Linked DNA regions of Homo sapiens: region 1 is linked to region 2. Evidence: promoter capture Hi-C in 16 types of primary human blood cells and fetal thymus (Javierre and others, 2016). All regions are on one chromosome and are shown on one strand. Each heading gives the region's core, a stretch centred on a gene start or on the middle of the fragment in contact. The rest is flanking DNA. Distances are from core to core; before and after follow the strand shown. Region 1 overlaps FMN1 (formin 1). Region 2 holds the start of SLC12A6 (solute carrier family 12 member 6).

Evidence for each region. The method cuts DNA at HindIII sites, captures the fragments that hold promoters and counts their contacts. A CHiCAGO score of 5 or more calls a contact.
Region 1: a fragment that was not itself captured here is called in contact with the fragment with the promoter of SLC12A6 in region 2 in 1 of 17 cell types (M0 macrophages); the score reaches 5.4 in M0 macrophages.

What each region holds. Positions count from the first base shown.
Region 1 is chr15:33,155,792-33,162,159 of GRCh38, reverse strand. All of the region lies in intron 3 of FMN1 (formin 1), which reads left to right. Among named protein-coding and RNA genes, the nearest start is that of FMN1, 36 kb to the left of the region's middle. The HindIII fragment of the contact is 2,451 bases long and covers 1,895-4,345 here.
Region 2 is chr15:34,333,415-34,339,425 of GRCh38, reverse strand. It overlaps SLC12A6 (solute carrier family 12 member 6), which reads left to right and starts at 1,645. Exons shown (of 26, transcript NM_001365088.1): 1 at 1,645-2,094; 2 at 2,674-3,016. The coding sequence starts at 2,746. RefSeq lists a silencer at 1,231-1,790 and enhancers at 3,080-3,199, 3,401-3,470, 3,531-3,580, 5,208-5,257. The HindIII fragment of the contact is 4,998 bases long and covers 1-4,701 here.

The DNA.
Region 1 (6,368 bases), core at 1,871-4,370, 1.2 Mb after region 2:
GTACCTGTTTTCCCAGCTACTTGGAGGAGCTGAGGTAGGAGAATTGCCTGGGCCCAGAAGCTGGAGGTTGCAGTGAGCTGAGATCACGCCACTGCACTGCAGCGTGGGTGACAGAGCGAGACCCTATCTCAGAAAGAAGAAAAACAAAAAGGAAAGCAAAGAGAAGAAAAACTCCATGGAAAGAAGAAGAGCCATTAACCTATTGCAGAACTTCCTTTTTTTTTTTTTCTTTTTTGTTTTTTGAGACGGAGTCTTGCTCTGTCACCCAGGCTGGAGTGCAGTGGCACGATCTCGTCTCATTGCAAGCTCCACCTCCCGGGTTCACGCCATTCTCCTGCCTCAGCCTCCTGAGTAGCTGGGACTACAGGTGCTCGCCACCACACCTGGCTAATATTTTGTATTTTTAGTGGAGACGGGGTTTCACCGTGTTGGCCAGGGTGGTCTCGATCTCCTGACCTTGTGATCCGCCCGCCTCAGCCTCCCAAAGTGCTGGGATTACAGGCGTGAGCCACTGCGCCCAGCCTTCCTTTGTTTTTTTAATCTACTCTTTGAAAAAGCTGCACTCCATCCCAGGGTGGATGGAAAGGAGAAAGGCAGGCAATAACTTGTCCAAAATCACACAGGAGAGGCAGAATTCAAAGCCATCTAGGACTAAATGAGCAAGGGGAGGGGGCAGTAATGGTACTCAGAGAAAGCAGCTGCAGCTGGAGGAGAACTACCCCAGAGGAGCGTGGTCTTCATTAGAGGGCACGCCTACTACCAAACTATAGCCCAGGAGATAGGGAGTCAGGGGATAAAGGTCCCGAGCCCTCTTCCATCTGCCCTCCAATCTGTTACTGTTTCCCAATGGCTAAATCTAGTAGAAGCCACAGGGCAAGGAAACTTGTTGATTGAGTTCATAAAAGTCAGTCTCTTGGTCTTAGGAGGGTGTGAAAGGTAGAGTGTGAATTTGACTGAACTAATAAAAATTTTCCAGTTTAGAAATGGAATACAGGTAATCTGTCTTAGCCGTGTTGGGCTCAGATGGAGTCACAGGGAAAGACTGTGCCAATGACTAGGCAAAGAAAGCTTTGCATTGGCCTTTTAAGGCCAAAATCAATTAGGATGTCTGCCGTCAGCAGACAGAATGACGACAACTAATTCTTGAATCTTATTTTTAGCATTGGTGAAATATGCTATGAACAATAGATAGCATCTACTAAAAGGCAATCATTTCTCATTAGGATGAGGCAGAACAGATATTTCCATTTGGGGTAGAGTGAGGTAATCTACTTGTTTATTGGAAAAAGAATCAAGGGAGAAATCACTGCTGCAATGTTGTCATAGACAGAATGCCAGCCTGGAGCCTGTCAGAGGAAATAGAAGACACGAAGACTCCCTGGGAAGCAAAGTGCTTTTACCTTGAACATAACCAGAGCAGGTCACTTCACAGGCCAAATTAAGATGTATAATTTAGTGTGTGCCTCTGCAGAGCCGCTGCATTTGAGTCCAAGTAGAATGAGGCAATGCTGTTTGAAATAGTCCTGTGAACTCAGCATGGAATTGCAATGCCAGTGTATTTAACCCCAATGCACAGTGATTTCCTGTCCTTTTGCTTTTTTTCTCTTAGGACTTACTGCTCTTTTTCCTCTGGTTTCTTGGATGAAAAATATGTGTGATGATTCCATACTGCATTCTGACTTTCTAATGGGTTGTCACAGAGAAGAGTTTGCCCTGGTCTAAAGCCTTCTTCTGACATGGAACACTCTAGAGGGTTGAGGTTGAAGTTCATTTGCTCAGGGAAGATCCTTTTTTGTTGAAACAACCAGCTAGTCAACCTGGTTTGGCTCAGTCCTCCAGTTCCAATGAGCCTCCTGTGGGTTGTGGTTTTCATGTCAGTTCCATTTTCAAAGCTTTTGCAGTGTTCCATCCCATGTATGTGCCACCCAGTGGCCAGCCTAGGCCCTGGGAAGTTGTCTTATCTCTTCATTTTTTTTCAAAGCCCTTCGTATGGTGTTTAAGTTCAGATCCACAATCCACAGGCTGGGGTTAATTCAGGTATCCATGAACAACTTTATGGGTCACTTTCTAAGATCCTTCTCCATAATCTTTCCCATACTTCTGGGCTCTCTGAGGCTCTGATTTCAGTCCTCTAACTAGAAATCTAGGACTACTAACCCTCCAACTCTTTGGCTGCAAACTTCCTGCAACTCTGCCCACACCCGAAATCAACGAGAGGCAGAACAGAGTGAGAGAAAAAGAAATAGGGTTTTCCCCCATACATCTTGGGACTACAGTTCCTCTAATCATAGAGAAATGTTCTCCTCCCTCAGAGTTTTAGGTGCCAACAAGAAAACTTCTTTCTATTCTTGATTCTGAATTACAGGACTCCTCCTATATCTTCCTCTGTTTGTGCTGATATTCACTGCCATGTTTCAGGCACATTTGAGTCCAGGCTTAGGGGCTACTGAAGGACAAAGTTGAGAAAGTTAGCTGCTTTACAGTTGGTTGATACTTCAAAGCCTGGTCTTCCTCATCAACCTGCTTGTTACCATTTACTTTTAGAGTGTTCAAATAGCTGCTCCATGCATTTTATATTGGTGTTTTTTTTCTGTTACATTCAGTGGGAGAGCTAGGATAGAGTGCACTTACTTTATCTTACATGGAATTGAAACACCTTATATACTGTATGATTCCTTCTAAATGTGTTAACTTTAGCCTAAATCTCATTCTCTATCCCTTTGCATCTAGCAGTGTTGTGGACATATTTGTTTGATTATTCCCCGATACATCAAATTCAATATTTCCACAACTGAATTCATCTTCTTCCCCTGAAGCCTATTCCTCTTCGTGCATTTATCTTTGTGAATGGCACCACAATCTACCCAGTCACCTACATCTGAAATCATGAAACCAAATTCTTTCCTGTCACGCATATCCAATTAACCACCAGACCCTTTCAATTCTATCTTTTTATTTAATTTTTACTTATTTATTTAGAGACAGAGTCTCACTCTTTCACCCACGCTGGAGTGCAGTGGCACAATCTCGGCTCACTGCAGCCTAGATCTCCTGGGTTGAAGCAATTCTTATGCCTTAGCCACCCAAATAACTGGGATTACGGGCATGTGCCACCATGCCTGTCTAATTTTTTCTGTATTTTTAGTAGAGATGGGGTTTTACCATGTTGGTCAGGCTGGTCTTGAACTCAAGTGATCCACCCACCTCAGGCTCCCAAAGTGCTGGGATTATAGTCATGAGGCACCATGCCTGGCCTGAAATCTATCTTTTAAAATTGACCATCTCTTCTCCATCACATTGCTACTGCTTTGGTTTTGGCTATCGCTTCTTTCTGGAATACTGAAAGACCTTTCTAAGTGATTTATACCACTAGTCTTACCCCCTACTTGTCTACTCTCTACTTTACTTCTGAAGTAATCTTTTTATAACAAGTATAAGTAAGTAGCTTAGGATTCTTCATTGGCTCCTATGGATCCTGGGATAGTGAAACTCCTTAGTCTAGTTCAGTACAAAGTTTCTTACAACATACTGCTTCCCAGGGCCCAGAACAAAGGAACTGTAGTCCCAAGATCATGAGACAAACTCCCATTTCTTTTTTCTTCCTCTGTTCTGCTCCTCTTTGGTTCCGGACATGTGCACCACAAGTGTGGTAAGAGCATTCTGTATGGAAGTTTCTGGGTGGATGAGGCAATAGTGTAAAGTTCTTTTTTTTTTTCTTTTTTTTTATAATAGTAGCTTTATGCCTTGCATTGTGGCTTTATTGCTATAAAATCCAATGTTATAATTTTCTAAACCTTGACTTGAGTTTCCCAACTGTGACTAACATATAGAGTTCTAACCATGACATTTTCTCCATTTACATAACCAAGACTTATAAAGACCAGGGGAAAAAAGTACTTAATCCTGTAAACAGGCACTACATGTCTGTAATTCTCATAAAGGATATAGCCTTTATGTCAGTCCTTCTCTTCTTTTATTTCTAAATTAGAATCTTCATTGAGTTTTTACTGCCTATACCAGCTGTAGTGAACTCCTGGTGCCCTTTTTCTAGATTTTATTGTTTAAGGGATGACCTTAGGGAGCAGCACTTTACCTGATCAGACATGTTGAAGCTCTCCAATGAGTGTGGTTTTTGTTTCTTTCTTTTTCTTTTTTTTTTTTTTTTTGAAAGACAGGGTCTTGCTCTGTCACTTAGGCTGGAGTACAGTGGTGCAGTGGCGCAATCTCAGTCCACTGCAGCTTCAACCTCCCAGGCAATCCCCTTGCCTCAGCCTCACTAGCAGCTGGGAGTACAGGCTTGCACCACATTCCCAGCTAATTTTCTCTTTTTTTGTGGAAACAAGCTTTCACTATGTTCCCCAGACTGGTCTCAAATTCCTGAGCTCAAGCAACCTCCCGCCTTGGCCTCCCAACGTGCTGGGATTACAGGGGTGAGCTGCTGCGCCTGGCCTCCGTGAGCGTTAAAATAGCAAGATGTGAGACATTGTTAAGAAATTATGTAACACCAAGTTAACAAAAAAACAAAAAACAGAAAACAACAAAAAAAACTCCTCTATTCAAATTAGATGGAAAACCAGTTTGTTAGTAGAAGGCAGTAGGTGAAGAGCAACATGACCTATGAAGCAATGTAGTGAGAGAGATCTGGGTTTGAAACTTGCATATTCTGAGCCATATTCCCTTAGACAAATTCCTTTATCTCTGAATTTCAGTTTCCTCATCTGTAAAATGGAGATGTACTGATTCCATGAGATAACAAAATGAAAATATAAGTGTATATGTGCTCAGTATATACAAATTCCCTCTCTTAGGGAATAGAATACGCAGTCATATTCCTATTTGAAATTACAGCATAAACTGTGACTTTGAACAGATTCTGAATTTTTTTTTTTTTTTTTTGAGATGGAGTCTCACTCTGTCACCAGGCTGGAGTGCAGTGGCGCGATGTCAGCTCACTGCAACCTTGGCCTCCTGGGTTCAAGGGATTCTCGTGCCTCGGCCTCCTGAGTAGCTAGGATTATAGGCATGCACCACCACACACAGCTAATTTTTGTATTTTTAGTAGAGACGGGGTTTACCATGTTGGCCAGGCTGGTGTCGATCTCCTGACCTGGTGATCTGCCCACCTCGGCCTCCCAAAGTGCTGGGATTACAGGCGTGAGCCACCATACCCAGCCAATTCTGAAAATTTTTAACACTCCTCCCCCAACATCACACACTACTCCTAATCCATGGGAATTGAGGAGATGAGAACAGCTAGAGGAAAATGATGCTTGAAGAGAGAGGAGAGCATTCTATTTTTCCAAAACTCAGCATAGCTCATCTGCTGCTTCCCTTCAGTTTGTCTGAGAATTCATTAATTGAACTCCTAATGCTTAGTGCTCAGCGGATATTGACAGCTTTGCAATTGCTTTTATTACTGATTATTATAAATTACACAATAAGAGACTACCTCCTAAGTGAGTTCTTGGACACATGCAGCGAGTTTTTACCAATAATTATTAAGTATCCCTACACATGTGCATCTTTAGAAAATGCTAGCAATAAGCATTTTAGAAAAGTTTTAAAAATACGGCCGGGAGCAGTGGCTCACACCTATAATCCCAGCACTCTGAGAAGCTGAAGTGGGAGGATCGCTTGAGTCCAAGATTTCCAGACCACCCTGGGAAACATGGCAAAAGGCTGTTTCTACAAAAAAAAAAAATACAAAAAAACTAGCTGGGTGGTGGTGGCACGTGCCTGTAGTCCCACCTATTCGGGAGGCTGAGGCAGGAGGATCACTTGAGCCTAGGATGTTGAGACGGCAGTGAGCCATGTTTGCACCACTGTACTCCAGCCTAAGCGACAGAGCAAGAACCCATCTAAAAAAAAAAAAAAAAAAAAAAAAAACTACTTGAGTGAGAACAGCCCCATATACAATTGTGAAAGAGGCAAGGCCTCTCCTGGTCTCCTGGCATTCTGGTTTGACCAGATATCTGCAATTTTCATAACTGTCATTTTATCACTCTCTTCCTCAAGGAGTTACTTTTACCAGACTCTTCCTCCTTTCTCTCTTCCTTCACTCAAAATATACTTTTATGTAGCTTTTTTGCTATTTAGAAGCAGTTAGAAAAAACCTGAGGAAAATAATTCACTAAAGATATCAAGGGCTAATGAATAGTTATTGTGTTATCATTCCCAGGGTGTGGGCGGTGCTTGTTTTAAGCAAGGAAGGCTTGAAGACTGGGCAATAGCTTAAGAAACTAGAAATATAGAGTTTGTGTGTGGGGATGGTAGCCACAGAGACATTTCTGAGGTCCCTCATATCACACAAGGAAGCAGCCACCTTCACTAATTATGTGACATTTCAGCCGTTTCTGTGGTGACATCAT
Region 2 (6,011 bases), core at 396-2,895:
TCTGTGTTTCTTTATAAAGGAAAAGTCTGAAGTTTGAATGAACGGCAGGCCTGCCTGAGGAAAAAATTGATCCTGCTGAGGATGGATGAAAGCTGTGGGCCTGAATCAAGAAACCCAGACTTTATAAAGAGTCAAACTTTAGGAGGTTTACACTTTACATTAGGATTTCTCATTTTGTTACCAGGATCTTTTTAACCTTTTTGATCCTTTAATCCTTGAAAGGATTTGGACTTTGTGTGTCATTTGATAAAAGAGAACTTCCGGGAATACAGTTCCCATTGCTAGGAGTGCTGCTTAAACATAACCACTTGTGAGGAGCCAAGACCCCAGGCAAAACCGGGGGCCAGTTTCTGGGCCCAGGTGATTGTTAAATTTAGAGGTCTTGATCACAGCTATAGGAAATAGCTTTTCAAACAAAACATTGGTGAGTCAGAATTTATCGAACACCACCATTTATACATTAAATAAACACTAAGAAAAAATATTCTAGCGACAAATGTAGTGGTGAAAACATGGAATGGATTTGAGAAAATACATCAACGTCTTCTCCAGGTATAAAAAAACGTATTATTTAGTGGAACTTTCAGTCTGACTAGAAAGTGGACATAGCATTTATTAAAAGGACAAGAACAACAACAAAAAATTAAAGTAGGACAAATGTGTTTAAGGTACTTTATAGTTTTATTTTTATTTATTTATTTCTTTGAGACGGAGTTTTGCTCTTGTCCCCCCAGGCTGGAATGCAATGGTGCGTTCTCGGCTCACTGCAACCTCCGCCTCCCAAGCTCAAGCGATTCTCCTGCCTCAGTCTAAGGAATAGCTGGGATTACAGGCACACGCCACCACGCCCGGCTAATTTTTGAATTTTTGGTAGAGACGGGGTTTCGCTATGCTGGCCAGGCTGGTCTGGAACTCCTGAGCTCAGGTGATCGATCACGCCCGCCTCAGCCTCCCAAAGTGCTAGGATTACAGTCGTGAACCACCGCGCCAGGCCTACTTTATAGTTTTAATTTTTTTTTTTTACATAAAAGTGGTTTATTTGTATGTAGACCTCTACATAAAAATTACAATGAGGGTTATTCCCAGGTATAGGAGCGGTGTTTCTGGTTAAAGAAATCATGAATGATGTTTTCAGAGACACTCATGAAAGAGAAATGGCTCCCCGGGTTCTGAGGGTGAGGAGCAGCGCCCGCCCTCTAGGATGCTTCCAGAGTGAGTGTGCAGCACAGCCGGACCGAGGAAAAGGATTATTCCCCTCTTCACGCGGGTCGGGCCGTGCCCTGGACTACAGCTCCCGTCGTGCCCCTGGCCACTCGTATTCGGCCCCGCCCCGCCTGCCGTGTCCCGCGGCGAGCGCAGGCGCGCTGCACTCGGTCACCGCGGGCTGCGGCGGCTGGGCGGGGCTTTCGGGCGCCCGCGGGACGGTTCCGCCCTCTCACTGCACCCCCGGGCTTCTCTTCGCAAGGTTCACCTCGAATGAGGAACAAGCGGGGAGGGAAGGGAAGGGCTGCGGCGGCGCGGGCGCACCCCGTCGGGCCCGGGGCTGGGGGAGGCCAGGTCACGTAACTGCTGCTCTGGCGTCGGGCCGGGGAGGGGGCGCCAGCCCCGGCAGCGCGAACCCTGCGCGCGCCGCGGCTCTGAAACAGTTACCGGCTAGTAAACAACAGCTGCGCGCGCACCCGCATCAGCTGGCGCCGGGATACTGCACCTGCGACCTCCTTCTCCCTCACCCTGCTGCCCAGTCAGGCCAGCCTGCGTGGCCGTCTCCTCCTCTACTGGGACCCTGAGGAAGAACGACGAGGGGGTGACCTGCGCCGGGGCGGGGGTAGGGGAGAACGCGCCTCCGGCAAAGGGGGTGGCTCGTCCTGTCACACGCAGGAGAAACCTAGCGAGCGGACCGTGGCTCAGTGGACTAGCTACGACTTGCCACGACTCTGAGCTGCAGTCCGAGGTGTCTTGATCCGCTAACCTCCTCCCAGACCCCGAGGACCTTTCTGCTAGGAGAAGAGCGGGCGCGCCACCCCCACCGACCTCTCGGAGACAGGAATCCGCTCTGCCCCTGCATCCTCCTCTGCTCACCCTTCTCTCAGTAGTGTGGGTTATTTTTCCCGTTATGCATGTGCACCTTTCCCACCAGACCCAAGTGGATTGTCGACATCAAAAACACCGGGTGGCTTTGCATACACCTCCCCCCAGCCAGACCTGTGGGGTATTCACCTGATACACAACAGGTGGCCGGGTGTACACCTTTTAGCAATCTGATCCACGCTATAGTCGCCTGATAAAGGTTTGCCTGCACGCACTTCGCCCAACTAGAACCGTGGGACACTCACCAGATAAAGGACTACCTCGACAGGAAACTGGGGGCTGAGGGGAGGGAGGCTTCATCTGCTGCCCTGAGACCATGGCACTGAGCCTTCAGCCCCGGACCAGAGGGGTTAGCTAGGTAGCTCTTCATTCTGAAGGAAAGAAGTCACACAAGATTGGCATTGTTTTGTCTTTTTGTTTTTTGTTTTTTTCTCTCTTAAAAAATATATTCACCTATTGGTGATGCACTTTCTAGGACAGTCGGCTTGAATTCTGAGTAGAAGTATTCTTAGTTGGGGCTTTTTGTGTGGTGTGAATCAAGGTTATTGAAATGTGTTATTTTTCAAGTTATCTTTTGTATTGCAGTCAAAAGTAGCTAGCGTAAGAGGAAGATTTTGCGAGGTTCCCCCCACTTTTTTTGTTCTTAAAAAGAACAAAATGCATCCTCCAGAAACCACCACCAAGATGGCTTCAGTTCGGTTCATGGTGACACCGACAAAGATCGATGACATTCCAGGTTTGTCAGACACCAGTCCGGACCTCAGCTCTCGATCTAGTTCCCGAGTAAGATTTAGCTCCCGGGAAAGCGTGCCTGAAACAAGCCGGAGTGAGCCTATGAGTGAGATGTCTGGGGCCACCACTTCGCTGGCAACTGTTGCACTGGATCCACCCAGTGACCGGACTTCTCACCCCCAGGATGTCATCGAGGGTAAGTAGAAACACAGACCGCAGCATACTTTCATTACTGGGTTCTTTATCCAAGATGACCATCTATGGATCTGGAAGATCATAATCATATAATTATGATTATAATAGTCATCAGGAACCAAGGCATCTCTTTGTGAGATGCTTAGGAACTCTTTGGAATAATAGCATAGTGGCTCTTTGCAGTAGTAATTTGGTATGTGGGAAGGTGTATGACAAGAAGGAAGGCAAATGTATATTTTAACTTCCTCATTTTTGTCTTCTTAGAAATGAAATGGGTATTTTGGTTAAAAGTGAATATCAAAGAATGTAATCGTTTTCAGCACACAGAATCCTAAATTTTAAAATTTAGTGAGTTGGATATGTGTTCTGTAGCCATCATTGGCTATTTCAGTCTGCTTTAAGACTGGTTTCATGGAGTAGTTACTGGTCGTATCTTAGCAGCTTTCCTCCAAGACTTCGAATGTGTATTGCAAAATTCTTTTTTGAAATCTGTATTTTTATGGAGACCTTGACACAAGTAGCTAAGCCCACTCAGGGTGATGGTGGGTAGACCTAATGTGCTATTCTGTCAAATGGAAGACTTCTGAAAAGGCTTTTAGGGCCTGATTCCCATGTAATTTATTCTCTCTGAGCTTTAGATGGAAAGTCTGATGATTAGAGTTAGCAGGTAGCACACAAGCCACTCCTGGCTCATGTTGACTGCTACAGACCTTTAGCTTCCTAAACCAGTTTGTGTGTGTCAGCTGGCTTGGTTTTATTTGAGGTACTGGGAAGAGGTGATGGAAGAGAGAGAAGAGAGAAAATGGGGAGATCATAACATTTTTTGGACTCTGAAATTTAAAAGTTTGAGACCTGTACTGCTTTATATATTTAGTTTTATGCTGTGTTGTAACTAATGTAATCTTTTAATGATAAAAATTTCCCTTAAAGACTCTTAAAATAATATTCCACCCAAGTTTGAAAACCATAGCCTCACCCACTGACTTGTGAAAGCAAGGCTTACTCACCATTTTCCGGTGTCAGGAAATATTGTTCCTTTTAACCTAAAGGGTTCAGGAAACCAGAATGATTTTAGTTCCCTAATTCTGTTTGTGTTTTTAGTATCTGGAGACAAGGTAGATTTGGTAAAGTTTACAGTCCTAGAATTCACTCATCCTTGACTAATCATTTTTTCTTTTATGGAGACATAGGTTGGTTCTCAGACTTTACTGTTTTCAACTTTTTGACAAATTTTACAGTGTGTCATACACTGGATTAAAATTACAGTATGGAATACAAATTTATCATTTCCTCTTCCTCCAAATTAATTCCAAATTGTGGTTTTAGTTTTTATCCATCATGCTGTATTTAGGTTGTAAAAATTCCAGGTAAAGACTATACCAGTGTTAATTTCTTAATATTGTAATTATCATTAGGTAATTTATAGTTTAGTTTGTTAGACTTGTGACTTACATGTTACAGAATTGTATTTTTATTCTTTGGAAAAGTGGACTTAGTAATGTGTTAGACCAGCAGAACAGGTTCCTTGTCCAGTCTGCGGTTCTTACGTTACCCTTAAGCATTCTTTACAGTCTAAAGTGGTATCCTTTTACACTATAGGGGTAAAAATGGGACTACAGGGGTAAAAATGGGGACATATCTAAGTGAAATTTATGTTTGTTTACGTGGTTACAGATGTTAAAAGCTTGGTTCTCTATATAACACATTCCTTACTTAATGTTTAAATATTCTCCGGTACCCAGATGAAAGGGAAATTAATAGTCTGGCCATTAGAGAGGACTTTGCCCTATTCTCGTGGAACTTTATACTTTCTCAGTGACCTACCTTTTCTCTTTTTTTTTCTTTCTATATTTAAAAAAATTCTTATGATGACTGTCATCATGTGATAAATTTTCCCCACCATTAGAAGAAACCACTTAGAAACACAATTATTTCACCCTTGACTTCTCAGTATGTGAAAGCCCTTGTTAGATTTAGATGTAGATCTTCAAAGGGTGCTGTTGTGAAGAAAAGGGCCTAATGTTAATATACACTTCCCTCTAGGCTGGCTTTAATATAGATAACAACTGCATCCTTTCTACAGTTGACTCTCCTTAAGCTCATAGTGCATTTCACAGTTAGTTTGCTATTTTAGTATTTACAGTTCTCTGAATTTTTTCACCCTTTGTACATCCTTCTGTGGTTGTGACATTAGTATGATTCTCCTTTCCCCCATGCCTCCCACGTTTCTTCCTGTAGAGAAACTTCCCACCCGAAGTTTCTTGTCATATGTCTTCTACTCACATTACATCACACAAACAGGAGGTGACACATGAAGTTTTTTTTGTTTTTTTTTTTTTTGAGATGGAGTTTCACACTTGTTGCCCAGGCTGGGGTACAAGGGCGCAATCTCCACTCACTGCAATCTCTGTCTCCCGGGTTCCAGTGATTCTTTTGCCTCAGCCTCCCAAGTAGCTGAGATTACAGGCATGCACCACCACACCTGGCTAATTTTTTGTATTTAGTAGAGATGGGGTTTCATCATGTTAGTCAACCTGGTCTCAAACTCCTGACCTCAGGAGATACACCCACCTTGGCCTCCCAAAGTGCTGGGATTACAGGCGTGAGCCACAGCGCCCAGCCCTACATGAAGTTTTAAATACTTATTTCAGTATATTTTAATTTTTTCTGCTGTTGGCTTTCTGAGTAGTTTTCTTTCTGCTATCAAAGTAATTTTTCTTTCATTTTGGCAAGGCTCCATTTGAATTTATAGGACTGTCCAGTTGGTAAAATCAAGAATCTTAGCAGTGTATTAGCTTATGTATGAAGAACGCCTTAAAGATACAAAAGAAACTGTTGAGAGTGGATGCCTCTGGAAAGTGAGTTACAAAAATAGAGTGGAGCCAGGCACGGTGGCTCACGCCTGTAATCCTAGCACTTTGGGAGGCCGAGGCGGGTGGATTCCCTGAGCTCAGGAGTCCGAGACCAGCCTGGGGAACACGGTGAAACCCTGTCTC